4 separate regions of the Homo sapiens genome follow, and regions 2, 3 and 4 are each linked to region 1. Evidence: promoter capture Hi-C in 16 types of primary human blood cells and fetal thymus (Javierre and others, 2016). All regions are on one chromosome and are shown on one strand. The core of a region is centred on a gene start or on the middle of the fragment in contact, and the rest is flanking DNA. Distances in the headings are between cores, read along the strand shown.

Region 1 (4,802 bases), core at 1,207-3,706:
AGCACTCCCCAAAACATGTCTCTCCAGATATTGCCAAATGTCGTCTCGGGGAGAAAAATCGTCCTCAGTTGAGAACCGCTTCTATTTGAACTCCGAACCGGGTTATGATTCAATAGCTAACTATGGTGGTGATTTAGTCCATGTATGAATGTCATTTTTAAGCTAGCTTTTTGGATTTGAGGTTATGGCTGAAAGGACTGATAAATAATATACATATTTGACCACAGTCTGCGAATATGAAGTTTATTCTTTGAGTTTCAGGCACTATGCCTCCTTGACTCAATGAAGAACCAAATCAACTTACAGCTAGCTACTCATGGGCTTGAACTTTCTGCTGCTGCTTCAGCTCAGCTGTCTACAACTAGACCACATAGCTGGATGAAGCTATTTAATGCATTGTGAAAACATTCCCTCTGCCCTCTGAGTGTATGCACATCCAGCTCTTCAGATGCCTGCAACAACAGCTGTTCAAGAATCCCAACCTAATCCATTCTCCACAGATGTGGAGCCCAGAAGATTTGTGAGTTGTTAAACCAAAACAGGATGCAGGAGCACCAGGATGGCACCCGGAGACTCTAACCATGGAATGCGTGGGAATTCTGTGATTATTTCTCCATCACACATTTATCACACTGTAGAGATGGACTCAAGACCAGTGCTTCTGAGGCCTTTTCCAGCACTTCTCATTCTTTCAGATGCCTTTTGCAACTTAACGTTCTCCTTCTTCTTCATCATGCCGTGTTTATTGAAAATCTCCCTATCTCATTAATCAGAAAACCCCATAATGACAGGAACCACATCGTTTTGCTTACCAGAGTATCTAAAACCAAAATAGTACCTGGCTAACAACAGGCATTCAATATTTGCTGAATGGAGATCATAGCTGTGTTTATATGTAAGACAGACAATAAGTAGTCATTGGTATTAGGGTCACATCTCCTTTCTCCTTCACACTGATTTACCTCATTTCATTGTGTTTATCTCACACCATTTTGTAAATTATCCCATGTTAGCTATTGTTATTCTCAAATTCCACGCATATGAAGAAAAACAGTAATTAGAAAATAATAGCAATATCCATAATTATGGGAGCTACTATTTACTGAGGGGTTACTATCCAGCAGGTGTATCACATTTTTCCCATAATTTATTCCATCTGTCCTTAGCCAAAATGAATGTTTAACTTTGCTGGTCACATACAAGTTTTGTCGCATATTCTTCTTCCTCTTTTTCTTTATTTCCCTCTCTCTCTTCTTCATTTTCATCTCGCAACCCTTTAAAAATGTAAAAATCATTCTTAAGTAGCAAGCCATACAAAAACAAATCGTGGACTAGAAGTAAACAATGCATTATCTTAATTTTGAACATGAGATTAAAACTGAAGCCTAAGGAATCATCTAATATATTCTTTTTTGTTATTTTTGTTGTTGTTGTTGAAGTTGTTTTTGAGACAGTCTCGCTCTGTCCCCCAGGCTGGAGTGCAGTGACGCGATCTCTGCTCACTGCAACGTCCACCTCCCAGGCTCAAGCGATTCTCATGCCTCAGCCTCCTGAGTATCTAGGATTACAGGCATGCGCCACCACGCCCGGCTAATTTTTTTTTTTTTTTTTTTTTTTTTGAGACGGAGTCTCACTCTGTCGCCCATGCTGGAGTGCAATGGCGTGATCTCAGCTCACTGCAACCTCCACCCCCTGGGTTCAAGCTCCTGCCTCAGCCTCCCAAGTAACTGAGATTACAGGCTCCTGCCACTGTGCCCGGCTAATTTTTGTATTTTTAGTAGAGACGGGGTTTCACCATGTTGGCCAGGCTGGTCTTGAACTCCTGACCTCGTGATCCACCCGCCTCGGCCTCCCAAAGTGCTGGGATTACAGGCGTGAGCCACCGCGCCCGGCCAATTTTTGTATTTTTAGTAGAGATGGGGTTTCACCATGTTGCCCAGGCTGGTCTCGAACTCCTGCCTCAAGTGATCCTCCTGCCTCAGCCTTCCAAAGAGTTGAGATTACAAGAGTGAGCCACCACGCCCAGCCTGGAATCATATAATATATTCTTATTTTACTTTACCCCAGTAAAATGCAAGCTTCATAAGGACTAGAAATTCAGTCTTTGCTCACTGCTGTTTCTCCAGTGGCTGGGACAGTATATAAAGCATGGTAAGTGCTTGATAAACATTTGTTGAATCAAGGAATGAATGAATGAACTTGACCATTGATTGCCTCAGGAAGGTTGTGGCTGCAGGGTTCTCATCACAAGATATTGCTACTTCCCCTGGTATTAATCAGTTGGGACGAGGGGAATCTCTGCCAGAGAAGAAGACCCAAATTCAATATTTAAAGGTAGGACAGATGATACTCGGGCAGTCTCCTGCCCTCACTCAAGATGGCGACAAGGCAGAGTGCCCTTTCCGGTCACATGACCTGACACTCGCCGAAGGGCACCTCCCCGCGCGTGCGTGCTGTGCCAAGGCTGCAAGGCGCTGAGGGGAGAGGCGCCGCCGTCAGCGCCGCCGCAGCTGGGACCCGTTAGAGCGGAAGCGCCGCCGCCACCGCCGCCTTTGCTGTCCCCCGGCCTCTAGTTCCCCGCAGGTGGGAGGTGGGAGCCATGTCGAAACGGCTCCGGAGCAGCGAGGTGTGCGCTGACTGCAGCGGGCCGGGTGAGTCGCACCGGCCGGGCCCGCTCCCCTCTGCTTTCCTGGCCCGGACCCCTACCCCGGGGCCGCCCCCTCAGGTCAGGCTGCATCCCGCGGCTAGGGTCGCAACGAAGAGGTCCCTGGGCGGCCTTGGGGTGGGAACCGTCCCGGGCCTGTCAGAGCCGGGCGGGCAGGGGGCCGCCGCCCTCCCCGTCCCTCGCGGCCCTCCCTTCCCTCTCGTTCCCTCCCGTTCCCTCCGTCCTAGGCCAACTGGGGAGGTGACGGGGGCCAGGGCTGCTCCCCCAACAGGAAGGGGCTTGGGCAATCCACAGGAAAGCCAATTACAGAAGTAAAATGTGAGCGTCCTCCCGGCTGCAGCCTCCAGAGGCTGCAGGTGTCACCTCCCACTAGACCCTTTCTCCGCCTGGGTGTCCTGCCCGGGGAGGATGACACTCCCTGAGACTCGCCAGAGGGTCCCCGTAGATGACTTCCCCGCTGCTGACATCCGACAGCTACTCTGCCCGGGAGAATTGCCAGGAGATCGGGGTCTTCCAAACACAACCAGCACTTAGGAGGCAGTGCTTGTCTCAAGTTTGAGGATCTGAACGGCCTGGGTTCAAACTAGATTTTGCTTCTGGCTGACCTTGGGCTGGTGACTTCACTTGGTCACTTGCTTGATTTCCTCATTTTTTTCAATGAGGATAATCGGGAGTATCACGCTTAGTGGTGAGGAAGATTCAATGAATACTCGTAGAATCATATCATCTAAGGCTTTTCTTTTTTGCATTATGCTGTCTACAGTAGAACTCTTGTAGTCCCTTAAAGCTATATTTGACTATCTAAATCATACGTTGATTACAACGGAAACAAACGCAAAATCACCAGCAATATAGGGGCATTGAAACGCTAAAGCCATTCCTTCATAATGATGCATAACTGTTCATACATAATATTCACATTTAGAGATCAAGTGTGTCTTAGCAATTGCAACTGAATTGTCAGGTCTCTGGATAGATTATTACATGCTGTTTTAGGTGCTTGGATGTATTGGCTTTGAGTTAATTCGAAGGTAACATGGCTTTCTTGGCACAATAGTGTCCGATAAACAATCTTAATTAAATCATTGAACACCACTGGCTTTGCAACTGTTCTGATCTTAAGCTTGTCATTTGGAAGTGGAGACCAATTGTAAATAGAACTGTGATAACTCAAACCTCATGTGGTTGTTTTATGGCCCGTACAGTGCAGGTGTTACCAGTTTCCTTTGAAGATAGGGAGGGGGTATGGAGGAGTTTAAAAAGAAGTGTTTTCTAAACCAAGTTAGTGTGAGTTATACAAACTCCATCATTTTCTCTAAAAATGTTATTTGTTCCACTTCCTTATTTTCTTGCCTATTTTCAGTTGAACTTACCGTGATGTATTTGATTCACATGTGTCTAGCTTCTAACTTCCTCTTGGAATGCATATTGTTTTGCTTCTTGATAGGGTACAGGGCAAAGCAAAATTGTTCCTCCATTGCCATCCTAAATATACTTTTGCAGCATTTTGTGCATTTCAGAACATTTTCTCTTCCATTGTATCGCTTTAGTTGTTGTCTCATACGCCTAATCTGCAGAGACTTGAGTCACTTCCTTCCTGTTTTGAATATAATTAGGCTACCTTGAAATATTCTGTGAAATTGAGCAGCTGGGAATTTGTGCTGCCTTTTCTGCACAGCCCTACTGAGAGAATTACCTGTAGGGTTAGGGACCCCTTTGAGATTCTGTTGAATGCTAAGGCCTTCTCCCCTAAAATGCACGTGAACGAATTTACCTAAGATTTGTCTGGGGGAGTCACAAACATTTTTGAAGTTCATTTGTGGTGTCCCTGGAGCCCTGGCTCCAGATGAACTTAAAGGGTTTTACCCAATCTCATTCATACAAACATTTTTATTTTACTATGTTAACATTCTAATATTCTTTCCATGGGATTCTGATCCAGGATGCTAAAGTGGTTAGTCGAATACTTGTCTTAATTAATATGTGTTAAATACTTGCTAAAAAAAGAATACTGCAAATCCTCTGAATAAGTGAAAACCAAAGCTATGCTTCAAAACAGTCTTTTTTTTTTTTTTTTTTTTTTGCCATTAGTGTCAGTACTATACTGCAGGAAGCAGTGTTGTTAATGCATCTTTGT
Region 2 (4,802 bases), core at 1,189-3,688, 740 kb before region 1:
TCCTCACCCCAGATTTATCTTAAAGGGTAAGTTCCAGGACCCCCGAAATCCCTCGGTGAGCTCCCACCTGTCCAGGTCTGCAAACATCTAGACTCAATGCACAAGATCCGGCGATGGCCGCAACCGGCGGTGTGCACAGCTGCATTTCCTCCCCCAGCCCCAACTCCCGCGTGCAACTTTGCAACTCTCGCTCGGGCCCGGCATTGGGGGCGGGCCTATTTACTCGGCCCGTTTGGCGGAAGGATCCCATGCGGGGACGCGGTTGCGCTCAGCCATCTGCGCCCCGCCCAGCGCCCGGGCCCCGCCCCCTCCAGCGCCCGGGCCCCGCCCCCTCCCGCGCCCCCTATGGCCCATAAAGAAGTCCCGGCCGGGCCGCTGCACTCCCCGCGCGCATCCGTGCGCCGCCCGAGGCTGTCTAAGGAGTCGGCGGCCATTTTGTTCTTCTCGTGGTTCCAGTGGGGAGAGAAGGAGGAAGTAGGGAGCGGGGTGGCAGGGGGGGGACCCGCCGCGGCTGCTGCCACCGCCGCCACCACCGCCTCTGCTCGTGGCGTGGGAAAGGAGGTGTGAGTCCCGGGCGCGAGCCGGCGGCGGCGCCGCTGCGGGAGGGTCGGCGGTGGGAAGGCGATGGCGGATTTAGATAAACTCAACATCGACAGCATTATCCAACGGCTGCTGGAAGGTAAGGGGGGCGGCGGGCGGCTGAAGGGGGAGGCGGGCCTGAGGGCGGCAGGCGGCCCCGGGGGCTCGAGGGAGGGGAGTTGGGAGGCCGGTTGGGCTTGCAGCACCGTGGGGAGTGAGCTCCTCGAGTTGGCCCACGGGCCGGGGACTGCAGCCGGAGGGAGGCCAGCCCGGGATTCCCAACTTGTCGCCAGCTGCGGACCCTCCAGGCTCCGCTCATTCATTGCACGAGGATGCAGGCTTCCTCCCGGCCGTGGAATTTGAAAACTCCGCTCCCCACCCCCACGTTTCCCGCCCCTACCCGTTTGCCCCCGCGCACTGGACGGGTCTTTGGAGCGATGGTTGGGGATCCCAGTCCAGCCTCCTGGACGACGTGTGCCGTGCTGTGCGAGATGGACTTTTCGGTGCTCGTCCTCTCGGAAGGCAGTTTGATGAGGGCATGAGTTCCGCCGGGTTTGGGGGCTCTTTTCCTGCTTGCTTTTATTTTTATTTTTCGTGGTTCTGGGGTCTTGGGGGGCCCATTTCTTGTTACTTGGTAACAAGCGTTCATGTCTCAAGAGGTGTGAGAACCTGTCTTCGCCTGCCCTCCAAATCCTTTTAAGTTGTTCTAATCTTGGAGAGGTCTCCGCGCTCTTTTCCTGAGCGTGCATCTGAAGAGGAAGCCAACGAGGCTGACGCTATCATTATCTTTCCAATGTGCCAGGCTCTGTCTTAAGCACTTTGCGTCCATGAATTATTACTGTAATCATAACTGACGCTTCTAAAGCGCTTACTGTGTGTCAGGCATTCTTTGAGCACTTAAGACAGATTTCATTTAATTCTCCCACCCATTGCAAGATATTTGCAATTTTTTTTGTTTTTGTTATTTTACAGAAGAAACTGAGATGAAGTCACTTAACCAAGGTCACACAGTTAGTGACAGTTGGATTTCAAATCCACATAGCCGGGAGCTAGAACCCTCTACAGACAACACTGTCACCTTATGTAGGAAGGAAGGTGGCCAGTGGTTAAGTAAAGGTTAATAGAAAGCTTTAAATTTCGGCTCATCTAAGACTTGTGAGGTGCCTGGCAATTGATTCATGTTGATGTGGGAGAGGGGCGAGGTTCAGCTTTTAAAGACGGAAGCTGAAATGAGCTGCTTTCAGATTCAAGGGCATGTCAACGGATGCTAACATCTTATCCAAGACTTTGTAAGAATTCAGTCATATCCCCTAACTTGGACACTTCATAATGGGAACTTGGCAGTTTCAACTGCTTTTTGCCTTTATACAGTCCTAAAATATTGTTGGACTATAAATGCTGTGAGTGGTGGAGTCGAGGGCATGAACAGTTGGACAGCTCTGGTGTTAGAATTTACAGATCTTTTAAAGTAAGTTATTAAAATGAAGCTCCTGAAAATATCTCGTCCTTTTCTTAATCTGTGCATTCTTTCCTTTTATGCTGTCTTTAAAAAAAAAACAACAAAAAAAACACTAAATGTCATTAAGGACCCCTGAAATGCTCTTGAAATGTTATTGCAGGTGAAAACCTTGTATTGTAGGTGAAAACCTTGTCATTCTTTTAATGCCAGGTATTTATATAAGAACCATACTTTTTCATACTAGTTAATATAGTTCTTTAATTTATTCGAGGCAGCAGTTGGTCAGAAACTGATTAAAATAGTTTGCTGTAAGAAAGGAACTTTTTGTTAAATATTTTCTTTCTAAATTTTAAAATTCTGCTTATCTCTGCAGGGATATGTGTGGCTTTATTTCTCTGAGGAAACAGGAAAAGTTGGAATTTGCATGGATTAGAAACATTAGAATTTTAAGATCATCTAAGGCTTGCTAATTTAAGTTCTGGTTTGCCCATAACTGCCTCTATTCATAAACAGCTTTTGTTAATTTTGATCTTTAAAATTGTAATAAGTACTTTGCCTGGTAAGTAATGATACATCTAAAATGAGATCATTGTTTCTTAATAGTTCCTCTTGTTATGTGGCACTTGAAAACCAGGTTTTCTTATATTTCATTTTTTGCTGAAATTAATAAAGCAGTGCATTTTAATGCCTTGGGAATAGGCTAACTGCAAAGTATACTTAAATTTCTTTTTTTCTCGTGGGTGTTAAATTGGCAGAGAAACAGTTGAAGATGATCCATTGAGGATATGTAGATATCTAAGTTAAATGATGTTGGTAATAAATTCTGTTTTACAATTTTTTATTTAAAAAAATTAAATTTAATAATTTAAAATAGAAATGAGAGTCTCACTGTGTTGCCCAGGCTGTTCTCAAACTCCTGGTTTCAAGCAGTCCTCGCACCTCGTCCTCCCCAGGTGCTGGGGTTATAGTCATGAGCCACCGTGCCCGGCCTAAATTTTATTCTTTTCATAATGCCCCCAAAACCTTTTTTTTCCCTAAATAAGATGTAAGTATATCTGAAAGTAGAGGGAATATGACTTGTGACTTTGGCCAGATTTTTTTACGTGTTTAGAATTGATCTTTTAAGCTTGCGAGCAGTATAACCTAGTTGAGAAGTAGCTGAGTAATAGTACTAAAAAGCTAACTGAAAAGTGAAGTCTTAAGAAAAACAGCATGTTGGTTTAGATCTTAGTCACTAACCTTTGCAGTTCTTTTCTTCTCTGAACTCTGAGTATTTCTGTAAGCGAGGCATCACCTCTGCAACCCACCATGGATGCTTTTATCCAAGCTCTGCCTTGCTGATGATAAAACTTAAGGTTGTTAACTCCTTAGTATAACTGATGTTAGTTATTTAAATAACTACACAGTAAAACGGCATTTTGAGAGAAAATAAGCCAGCTGTTGATTTGGTCTGATGTATTGAAGACAAGTGAGATTTGGGGCAGTTTTACTTTGTAAATGACCTCCTTCAAGGAGCCATGGTGGCTAGCATTTTTTTTGCATAGCAGGTGGTTGTAACTTACTTCACATCTTGGTTTGCAAGAAGCATCTTTGCTTTGAAGAAGGCCATTGTCAAAGTGCAAGACCATGTCAGGCTCTGCAGAATTGCCTGACTTGTTTTAGTGATTTAAATATGATCTCTGCCCTGGCTCACAGAAAGTGCTTACAGATTTAATCCTCTGATACATAAGGGTTGTTCTGAAGGTAGGGAGTGTTCAGATATTCTGAAACTCTAAGATTGTTTAAATAACCCATATGTTCATCTTTTTGATGCAGTATAAAACGTTCATATTCTGGTGTTTAGCCATCCCTGGTCCTAAAGATAATAAAGGACAAACATAATGGTTTAAAAAGGGGAAGGTTTCTTAATATGCTAACCAAAAAAAAAAACAAAAGTAATCTTTCCTAATGAACACCTGTAATTATTTATTTTTTTATTTTATTTTGGAGACAGAGTCTCACTCTGTCACCCAGGCTGGAGTGCAGTGGTGGGATCCTGGCTCACTGCAACCTCTGCCTCCCGGGTTCAAGCGATTTTGGTGTCTCAGCCCCCTGAGTAGCTGGGATTAACAGGCATGCACCACCACGCTCGGCCAAGTTTTTGTATTTTTAGTAGAGATGAGGCCAGGCTGGTTTTGAACTCGTGACCTCAAGTGGTCTGCCCGCCTCAGACTCCCAAAGTGCTGGGATTACAGGCATGAGCCACCGTGCCCAGCCTGTAATTATTTGTTTACAGAGCAGGTAATTTTTACACTCACATCCAAGTTGTCAGTTTCTAATTCCCTCATTGATAAGAACTCTGATGTGAGCCCTTGCCCTTCCTTTCCCATCAGTATGTTGGTCATATGCCCACTTCCTCTCCTCCTAGGCAAGGTGGGAAAGCTCTGTTGGAGACAGATGATCTGCAGCTTGCAGGAGTCCTTTTTTAAACCACAGCATTGAAAAAGGATTACTCTCCTTGTGCCCGCAGTGCCCTCTTGCCTGTCAGTAGCAGGAGGCAGCAGTGAAATCTGACAGAATTGTGTGTGACGTTGTGCTTGCGGGGGATGTGACACACAGGAGCGCTCTGCATTCTGAGCCTAGGGTGTTCCTCCTCATAACTGGGCAAATGGACATGCAGTTGTAGCCCAGCAGTGGTCAGCTGTAGAAATTAGTGAGGTGATTTGATGTCTTTGAAAGCACAGTCCTATTACAACCTGTAACCTGTTGTGCAGAATCACAGTAC
Region 3 (4,802 bases), core at 1,349-3,848, 610 kb before region 1:
AAGAATGTTTTTAGCTGCACACTTTCTTTTTGAGACAGAGTCTCACTCTGTTGCCCAGGCTGGAGTGTAGTGGCATGATCTCAGCTCACTGTGACCTCCACCTCCCAGGTTCAAGAGATTCTCCTGCCTCATCCTCCCGAGTAACTGGGACTGCAGGCGCCTGCCACCACATCCAGCTAATTTTTGTATTTTTAGTAGAGGCGGGGTTTCTCCACATTGGTCAGGCTGGTCTTGAACTGCCGACCTCAGGTGATCCACCCACCTCGGCCTCCCAAAGTGCTGGGATTACAGGCGTGAACCACCGTGCCCAGCCTGCACACTTTCATTTAATCCCTCTGTTTTTAGGATGTTGCCTCGCCTCCAAGTGTTTTCTCTGATTGCTATCCCTGGACCCAGAACTTCTCTGGTTCAAGTTCTCCAGGGAATAAGCATCTCATCTTCTGCAGAGATTGGGGTTAGGGAGTGACAAGGAGGAGAATCAGGGGTCTAACGCTTCCCCCAGATGGTATTTATATTCAATCAATTATTGGTTTTCAGTCCCACCTCTCAGCACAGGGGCCTTCAACCAATTCCTGAGCCTTTCTGGGGTTTATCAGCTCTAAGTGCCTTGCTACTCATTGGCAACTCCTGCAAGAACTAGGGTTTCTCCTCCCAAGTAAACCACTCATCTACATTCTATCTTCTAAAAAGGATTTGAGATCTCTCATGAGCAGTCTTCTCCCACTCTTTGTGGGTTTATACCTCTTTGATTCCTTTGCTAGTATTTTAGGAGTGTTTCAGGAGAGAGCAGAGATAACTGCATGGGCTCAATCTGCCATGTTTCTATATGTTTTATGTAAATATTTTCCTATCAGGCATGGAGAGATAATATAGTGAAATGATTAGAAGCACAGATTCTATAATGGGGGAGGCTAGGCCTGTGTGATCCAGGGGATATATCTCTGTACCTTCTGCTCAATTTTGCTGTGAACCTAAAACTGCTTTTAAAAAGAAGATCTAGGCCAGGCACGGTAGCTCACACCTGTAATCCTGGAACTTTGGGAGGCCAAGACGGGCGGATGGCTTGAGGTCAGGAATTCAAAACCAGCCTGGCAAACATGGTGAAACCCCGTCACTACTAAAAATGCAAAAAAATTAGCTGGGCGTGGTGGTGTGCACCTGTAATCCCAGCTACTTGGGAGGCTAAGACAGGAGAATTGCCTGAACCTAGGAGGTGGAGGTTGCAGTGAGCCGAAATCGCACCACTGCACTCCAGCTTGGGCCACAAAGTGTGATTCTGTCTCAAAAAAAAAAAAAAAAAAAAAGGTCTACTGGGCCGGGCGTAGTGACTCACGCCTGTAATCCCAGCATTTTGGGACGCTAAGGCGAGCAGATCACTTGAGGTCAGGAGTTCCGGACCAGCCTGGCCAACATGGTGAAACCCTTTCTCTACTGAAAAATGTTTAAAAAATACAAAAATTACTGGGGCCTGGTGGCGGGCGCCTGTAGTCACAGCTACTTGGGAGGCTGAGGCACGAGAATCCCTTGAACCCGGGAGGCAGAGGTTGCAGTGAGCTGAGATTGCCTCTGCACTCCAGCCTGGGTGACAGAGTGAGACTCTGTCTTAAAAAAAAAAAAAAAAAGAAAGAAGGAAGGAAAGAAAAGAAAAGAGAAAACGAGCACACTTTCTGAAGCCACAGTGTTTGGGTTCAAATCCCTAGTTCTGCCACTTGCTAGCACTATAACTTTGGGCATGCTTTCTGTGTTCAGATTCTTCGTCTATAAAACAGGGAAATAGTGGTACTTAGGTACCAGTTTTGTGCATACAGCATGGTGTATACAGTATGCAGCATGGCTAACTAAGCCCTCAAAAAGCTTTAAAATGCAGCCTGGACAATATAGCAAGACTCTTTCTCCACAAAAAAACAAAAACAAATTAGCCAGATGTGTTGCCACACACCAGTCCTAGCTACTCGGGAGGCTGAAATGGGAGGATCGCTTGAGCCCTGGAGTTGGAAGCTGCAGTGAGCTATGATCATGCTACTGCACTTCAGCCTGGGTGACAGAGCAAAACCCTGTCTCCATTTAAAAGACAACAAAAGCTGTCCAGGCTTGGTGGCTCACGCCTGTAATCCCAGCACTTTGGGAGGCCGAGGCAGGCGGATCATGAAGTCAGGAGATCGAGACTATCCTGGCTAACACGGTGAAACCCTGTCTCTACTAAAAATACAATAAATTAGCCGGGCGTGGTGGTACACACCTGTAGTCCCAGCTACTCAGGAGGCTGAGGCAAGAGAATTGCTTGAACCCGGGAGGCGGAGGTTGCAGTGAGCCGAGATCACGCCACTTCACTCCAGCCTGGGTGACAGAGCAAGACTCCGTCTTAAAAAATAAATAAATAAATAAAAGCTTAAAAATGTTATTTGAGAAAGGGTGCAGGATTCAGGTTTCCTTAATTGGAAAAGACAAGATGATGTTAATTCTCCAGAAAGCGAAAGGAGAAAATATATGTTAATCTTGCCTCAAAATCGATTGTATGGTCCTCAGGATTTAGCAATTCTGAATAATGCCATTTCACCTATTCCCTGCAGATGGCAGCCTTTGTCACCAAAACTTGGTTCCTCTCACAGGGTTGACCCGGAGCAGAGGACAAAATGCTATTCTTTCATTGGCTCTAGTTCACTCAACAAATATTTACTGAGCACCTACTATGTGCCCGGACCCAGAAACAGCAGTGGTCAAGCAGGCACCAGCATTGCCCTCTCAGAACTTCCAACAGTTCTAGAGCTTCATTCTAAGGAGCTGAGGGGCCCTCCCAAGGAAAGCTTCCATGAGAATGGGCCTTCAGTTACAGAAGCCTTAACAGGAGTCAGAAACAGAATGCCTTCTCGAGCAAAAACGATGTTGCAAAGGACATTACTCACCACCAATTGCTTTCCAGGCCTACCTGCACTTAAAAAGAGCCTTTCATAAGTTCCACCCTCAGAGGAAAGAGCTGGGATATTTTATTTTATTATTTATTTATTTATTTTGAGATGGAGTCTCACTCTGTTGCCCTGGCTGCAGTGCAGTGGCCCAATATAGGCTCACTGCAACCTCTGCCTCCCAAGTTTAAATGATTCTCATGTCTCAACCTCCCGAGTAGCTGGGACTACAGGCGCCCACCACCATGCCTGGCTAATTTTTGCATTTTTATTAGAGACAGGGTTTTGCCATGTTGGCAGGCTGGTCTCGAACTCCTGAGCTCAGGTGATCCACCTGCCTCGGCCTCCCAAAGTGCTGGGATTACAGGTGTGAGCCACCGTGCCCAGCCAAGAGCTGGGATATTTTAAATTAAATAATTCAAACTTAAAGCTGCTGGAACTTTCTTCTGAGCCTTGAGAGGAATGTGGCCATGTAGTATGCAGTTGCAACTTCTGCTTGTCCTGTAAATGATTAGAAATGACCCAGTAGGCCGGGTGCGGTGGCTCACGCCTGTAATCCCAGCACTTTGGGAGGCCAAGACAGGCAAATCACTTGAGATCAGGAGCTGGGGACCAGCCTGGCCAATATGGCGAAACCCCGTTTCTACTAAAAATATAAAAATTGGGCGTGGTGGTGGGCACCTGTAATCCCAGCTACTTGGGAGGCTGAGGCAGAAGAATTGCTTGAACTCAGGAGGCAGAGGTTGCAGTGAGCTGAGATTGCACCACTGCACTCAAGCCTGGGCAATACACAGTGGCTCACGCCTGTAATCCCAGCATTTTGGGAGGCCGAGGCAGACAGATCACAAGGTCAGGAGTTCAAGACCAGCCTGACCAACATGGGGAAACCCTGTCTCTACCAAAAAAAAAAAATAGCCAGGCATGGTGGCACAGGCCTGTAATCCCAGCTACTCAGGAGGCTGAGGCAGGAGAATCACTTGCACCCAGGAGGCGGAGGTTGCAGTGAGCCAAGATCACGCCACTGCACTCCAGCCTGGATGACAGAGGGAAACTCCATCTCAAGAAAAAAAAAAAGAAAGAAATGACCCACTAGCACCAGAGATAAGACCCTCTCAGGACATTACTCCTCTTCATAGAATGTTAAAGCATCTTCCTTGAAATGTAGCAAGCTGTTTTAATCAAATGACTGTAACATACATATGGGCCTTGGATGGAAAATGTTGCAACTCAGCTGCAACTGTTTCTATCTATATAAGTGAAACCTTAGCTTCCTCTCTTTCCAACACTGATCCCATTCCTTTGGAGTATGTGTTTCGCAGGTGATCATCCTCAAACCTTGCACTTGAATAAACTCTGTACTTAATCATATTTTCTAAATCTCGTTATGCAAGTTTGACAGATACTAAGAGGCATTGTCGCCAATGTAGAAAGAGGGTGGCAGGGTTATGGGGTGAGTGAACGGGAAGATTTAGGAAATACAGACCACGGATAACAATTCAAAATGCCCCACCAATTTTTAAACCAAACATCTCCTTTTTAAGAAAAATTATCCAAATTTTGGAAATAAGACCAAGAGAGGGCAGTGTAGTTCTTTCAATGTCATCAAGGACTTTGTTTCACAAGCTCACCCAAAGATTACTTAATTCTCTAGCAGGGATCAGCAAACTCTTTCTGTAAAGGTCCAGGTAGTAAATATTTTAGGCTTTGTGGCTGGTTCCTATCTGTCAACTACTCAACTCTATCGGTCATCATGGTCCACCATTTCTGTACAGCAAAAGCATCCTGGGGAGATACAGAAATAATTGGGTATGGCTGTGTTCCAATAAAACTGTATTTTAGGCCGGGCATGGTGGCTCACACCTGTAATCCCAGCACTTTGGGCGGCCGAGGCGGGAGGAT
Region 4 (4,802 bases), core at 617-3,116, 520 kb after region 1:
AACAATTATTTATTGGTACAATGTTCACCATTCGGGTGATGGGTGCCCTAAAAGCCCAGACTCCACCATTACACAATATATGCATATAAGAAACCTGTACCCCCTACATCCATACAAAGAAATTTAAAAATTATTAAAATAAACATTGGACTTAATAGTATTATCTCCTAGAGGTATTAAATTAATTACGTGTTATTGAAAGGCATTTAATAAGTGTGCTCTATTATTAGTATTAATAAGGACAATAAAATAATACCCTTTTATAACCAAAAAAAAGTTGGTGCAAGCCTCCCACCACATGAACATATCAAGGGACCTCTGTGACCCCTTCTCAACAGTGATCTGTCAAACATCATCAGTAATCCTTGAAACAAACTAACAGAGCCCACTTGACCACAGGAGGGAAGGTATTAGGTTGGTACAAAAGTAATTGTGGGTTTCAACTTTTTTAAAAAAACACTAAGTCGTAATTACTTTTGCACCAACTTATAAAAGGCTTGGAGAGAAACGGTAGCCATCTTCTGAATCATTTACGCTTCCTGCCCCAGCAGTAAAGTCTGGAGATCTCACCTGAGGACCTGCCTGTGTCGCAGAAATGCCAGGTAATCATTAGTGATCTTGCACAGGACTCGTGGCTGAGAACAGCTTCTCACTTCAGAAAAGCTTGTTATTTTTTCTGGCAGAAGCAGAAGAAAAAAATCCAGACTTAGGGTTAAATTTTATAGGTGTGGTATCATACATCTTCCTCACTGAGTAAAAGTAGTAACTACAATGCCAATGGTTTTTTAAAAACACCACTGGGTCCTCTTTATTTAATGTCTCATCTAAATGTTATACTGTATCTCTTCAATCCTCACAGTTTAAAGGGAATATGTTGAAAATAAATCCCAAAGTTGTTGTTGAATTACAGCTGTGATGGGAAGCAAAATAACTTAGAGGTCATGGAATGTTAAAGAGCTACTGAAAATTATATTTGACATTTTCCTTTTTTTTTTTTTTGAGATAGTCTCACTCTGTCGCTGAGGTTGGAGTGCAGCGGCATAATTTCAGCTCACTATAACTTCTGCTCCCAGGTTCAAGCGATTCTCCTGCTTCAGCCTCCCAAGTAGCTGGGATTACAGGTGTGTGCCACCATACCCTATCTCAGTTGGGGTTACAGGTGTGAGCCACTGTGCCCGGCCATGTTTGACATTTTTTTTTTTTTTTTTGAGACGGAGTCTTGCTCTGTCGCCCAGGCTGGAGTGCAGTGGCGCGATATTGGCTCACTGCAAGCTCCGCCTCCCGGGTTCATGCCATTCTCCTGCCTCAGCGTGTTTGACATTTTTAATGATAATGGAAAAACGTTTATGCCTTAGAAGTGAATAAAGGGCTGCCTGTGGACCAATAAGACCCCAATTACCTAAAGAAAAATGTACACACACACAGATACAAAACTAGCATGAACTATACCAACATGTTACCAGTGGCTGTTTTGAGGTACTGAAATTGCGGGAAATTTTTCTTAATTGGTCTGTATTTTCTAAATTTTCCACAGCATGCACATGGTGAAGCAGCACTGCACAGTGAGGGGCACACGGGCTTTGGGAGTCACACAGAGTTGGAGCCAGTCCCTAGCTCTGCCACATACTATAGGGAGAATGTCTAAGTCTTTTTTTTTTTTTTAAGGCAGGGTCTCGCTCTGTCATCCAAGCTGGAGTGCAGTGGTGCAATCATGGTTCATTGCAGCTTCTACCTCCCAGGCTCAAGCGATTCTCCCACCTCAGCTTCTCAAGTAGCTGGGACCACAGGTACATACCACCACATCTGGCTAGTTTTTAAATTTTTTGTAGAGGTGGGGTCTCGCTATATTGCCCAGGTTGGTGGTCTCAAACTCCTGGGCTCAAGAGATCCTCCTGCCTTGGCCTCCCAAAATGTTAGGATTACAGGTATGAGCCACCACACTGGGCCCTGAGTCTTTCCATCTTCATCTATTAATTGGCTTAGAGGTTGATAATGAGGACTAAATGTGATGATGCTTATCAGGTACCTATGGAGGTACTTGAGTGCACATTGTAGAGTGTATAGTCAGGAAGTCTAACTGGTGTATTATTTTTATAGACACAAGGATTAAAAAAAAAAAAAAACTCTTCAGCAGAGGCTCCCACCTGGACAGTTACTAAGGTTCTCTGGGTAGGAAATAATGCTGGCAGTCTGACATTTCTCACCCATTAACTTTTTTCCTATCTTAAATGCACTAAGATTCACCAGTCCTGTCCCTTGGGCTATGAACTCCTGGCCCTGTTGTTTAGAGTGAGTAACAGATTCAAGCTCCTCAGGACTGCAAAAGAGCAGGGCCCAAGCCACAAGCACAATGATATGCTCCCTCCATGACATGCAGACAGTGCCTCAATGGCAGAGGGTCCATGGAATTAGAAGGGGAAGAGGGAGCCTCTTCCCAAAAGAAAAACAAAGTTGCATGCAAACTGTACCTAAGCACTGTAAGACGATCTTAAAACTTTCACTTCTCCCAGGGGCCCTCCCAGAATAAGAAATTACTCTTATCCCCTTCCTTGAGATTATTATCCCTTCAGCAATGTTATTGGTTGATTTCTGTTCATATCATATAATAGCCTACACTTTACAGTTTTTCTCATCCTTTCCTATATACCTTCTCCACCTGCACAGTGTATACTATAGTTCGTCAATTAATAAAACACACAATCAAGTGTTTATTAAGTACTTATTTTGCTAAATGCCATGGAGAACCAAAGAAAAGGCTGTGCGCAGCAGAAAAAGTCTTGCATCAGAGAAAGCGGGCCTTGGTTCTTTTTAGTACTCCTTCTATCCGACATTTGGCCAAGTTACTTATCCTCTCTAGGCCTCAGTTTCCTTATGTGTAAATCGAGGGTAATAATAGTGTCTATGTCCTAGGGTTGCTGAAAGGATTAAATGCAACATTTATCCTTCTTGTACCTCAATTTAGTCATCACAACATTGTGATTAGGATTAAATGGGAAAATATTAATATAGGATATCTAAAAGCATGTAGCATGTAAGTGAGCTTTATTGTATTGTCCTTAAGAAGCTTGCAATCTAGTTAGGGAAACAAGAATCATATAGGTAGAAAGATTAGAAAATAAGAGGTTGGTGATAACCAAGATCATTTAAAAAAGTAAATGAGTGCCCATTATGTGTCAAGTCCTTTATAAGTGATCTCATCTAATAAGGAGAGGAGTCCTATGAGAAGATCATTCATGATCTCATCTACTCCAGTCTAGACCATTAGTATGTGGCAGAGTCAAGGCTGTAATAACTAAGAGGCAGGATTCAGACTCTTGTCTTACCTCTATATTTCCAAAGCTGAAGCATCATAAATACCAACTGCTGACTAAGCCAAGAGGATTGTCCCTGTGCAGTAGGAAAAGCTGGGCCACCAGGTTTAATGACCACCACCACTTGTTCTGGGCAGACGGTGTATCAGACACTGCACAGATTATTTAACCAACTTGTCTTTTCAACAGCTCTATCAGTTCTCGATAATCTTTGTTTTTTTGAGACGGAGTCTCACTTTGTTGCCCAGGCTGGAGTGCAGCGGCGCGAACTCTGCTCACTGCAACCTCCGCCTCCCAGGTTCAAGTGATTCTCCTGCTTCAGCCTCCCAAGTCGCTGGGATTAAAGGCGCCCGCCACCACGCCCGGCTAATTTTTGTATTTTTAGTAGAGATGCGGTTTCACCATGTTGGCCACGCTGGTCTTGAACTTCTGACCTCAGGTGATCCGCCCGCCTCGGCCTCCCAAAGTGCTAGGATTACAGGCGTGAGCCACCGTGGCCAGCCTCAATAATCTAATTTTTATTTAAAGAATAGGAAACACGACTTAAAGAGACTATTCATATTAACAGCTACTATTTATTGAAAGCTACAGCCTATCTAAGGTGGATGCTTTTGAATCTGAATCCATGTATATCCAAAACAGTTATTTATCACTAAGTAAAACAAACAAGATCCAGGGCTCCCCCGTTCACAGAATGGCCAAGCAAAGAGAAGTTGAGAGTGCAAGATTGCCTGTGGGGGCTAAGCTGGAGTTAAATTACGATCAAGTTTTTCTTTATTCAGAACTAGGTGTCAGGCACGGTACTAAAACGTATTCACACCCTCTGTGAAACCTGCTAATTACTCCATTTACACAGAAGGAAACTGAGGCTCAGAGAGGTGAGGGAACTCACCCAAGGTCACACAGCGAGCGAACAGTATTCGAACTCCAGTTTAGGTGAGTCCTGGGGCCCAGAGTCTTTCCTCGGCATCAACAACCACAGGAACAAATCACCCAGCATTAGTCCGTTTATAAAGGCCTACCGTCCCCAAAGTGAAAAGAGGTGGAAAGGGCCGCGGAAAGAGCCCCTGGAGCACACACGCCAGATCCCAGCACTTGTTCCTCCGACCTGGCCAGGCAGGGACTGTGCCCTAGAGCCAACTCCCTCAAAGTCCCCAGCCCCACCACTCGGAGGACTGACGACCCAGTTCTCCCGCAGGCCGGACCGCAGGCCCTACCGGCCTACCCGCAGGCCGACCTTTATTCGCCGGAGGTCCCCGCACTTGGGGTCGGGGCCGCAGCTGCCACTGTCTCAGCCCAAAACACCCGAGTTCTGCCAGACCCGGGGCAGCAGCCGACGCACTACCGCCATCTTGCCCCGCGGTGTTCGCTTTCAGAACCCCGCCAGGAAGCAAGCATCCAGTTCCGGAAAATGACAGTTCCGCAGAGCTTCTTCGCCCGGGAAGGAAAACTTCCCCACACCTTGCCTCCCCTCTGGCAGCTGAAATAGCG

What was found. The method cuts DNA at HindIII sites, captures the fragments that hold promoters and counts their contacts. A CHiCAGO score of 5 or more calls a contact.
Region 2: a fragment that was not itself captured here is called in contact with the fragment with the promoter of GIT2 in region 1 in 2 of 17 cell types (fetal thymus and total CD8 T cells); the score reaches 7.0 in fetal thymus.
Region 3: a contact is called between a fragment that was not itself captured here and the fragment with the promoter of GIT2 in region 1, in 1 of 17 cell types (fetal thymus). The highest score is 6.6, in fetal thymus.
Region 4: a contact is called between a fragment that was not itself captured here and the fragment with the promoter of GIT2 in region 1, in 3 of 17 cell types (neutrophils, naive CD8 T cells and naive CD4 T cells). The highest score is 9.0, in neutrophils.

Annotation. Positions count from the first base shown.
Region 1 is chr12:109,994,022-109,998,823 of GRCh38, reverse strand. It overlaps GIT2 (GIT ArfGAP 2), which reads left to right and starts at 2,456. Exons shown (of 20, transcript NM_057169.5): 1 at 2,456-2,651. The coding sequence starts at 2,600. RefSeq lists enhancers at 2,286-2,445, 3,136-3,185 and a silencer at 2,716-2,805. The HindIII fragment of the contact is 1,710 bases long and covers 2,081-3,790 here.
Region 2 is chr12:110,738,530-110,743,331 of GRCh38, reverse strand. It overlaps PPP1CC (protein phosphatase 1 catalytic subunit gamma), which reads left to right and starts at 441. Exons shown (of 7, transcript NM_002710.4): 1 at 441-679. The coding sequence starts at 625. RefSeq lists silencers at 211-350, 511-570 and an enhancer at 208-716. The HindIII fragment of the contact is 1,457 bases long and covers 1,710-3,166 here.
Region 3 is chr12:110,600,161-110,604,962 of GRCh38, reverse strand. No RefSeq gene overlaps it. Among named protein-coding and RNA genes, the nearest start is that of TCTN1, 12 kb to the left of the region's middle. The HindIII fragment of the contact is 416 bases long and covers 2,391-2,806 here.
Region 4 is chr12:109,477,511-109,482,312 of GRCh38, reverse strand. It overlaps UBE3B (ubiquitin protein ligase E3B), which reads right to left and starts at 4,679. Exons shown (of 28, transcript NM_130466.4): 1 at 4,204-4,679; 2 at 571-676. RefSeq lists an enhancer at 4,767-4,802. The HindIII fragment of the contact is 2,401 bases long and covers 666-3,066 here.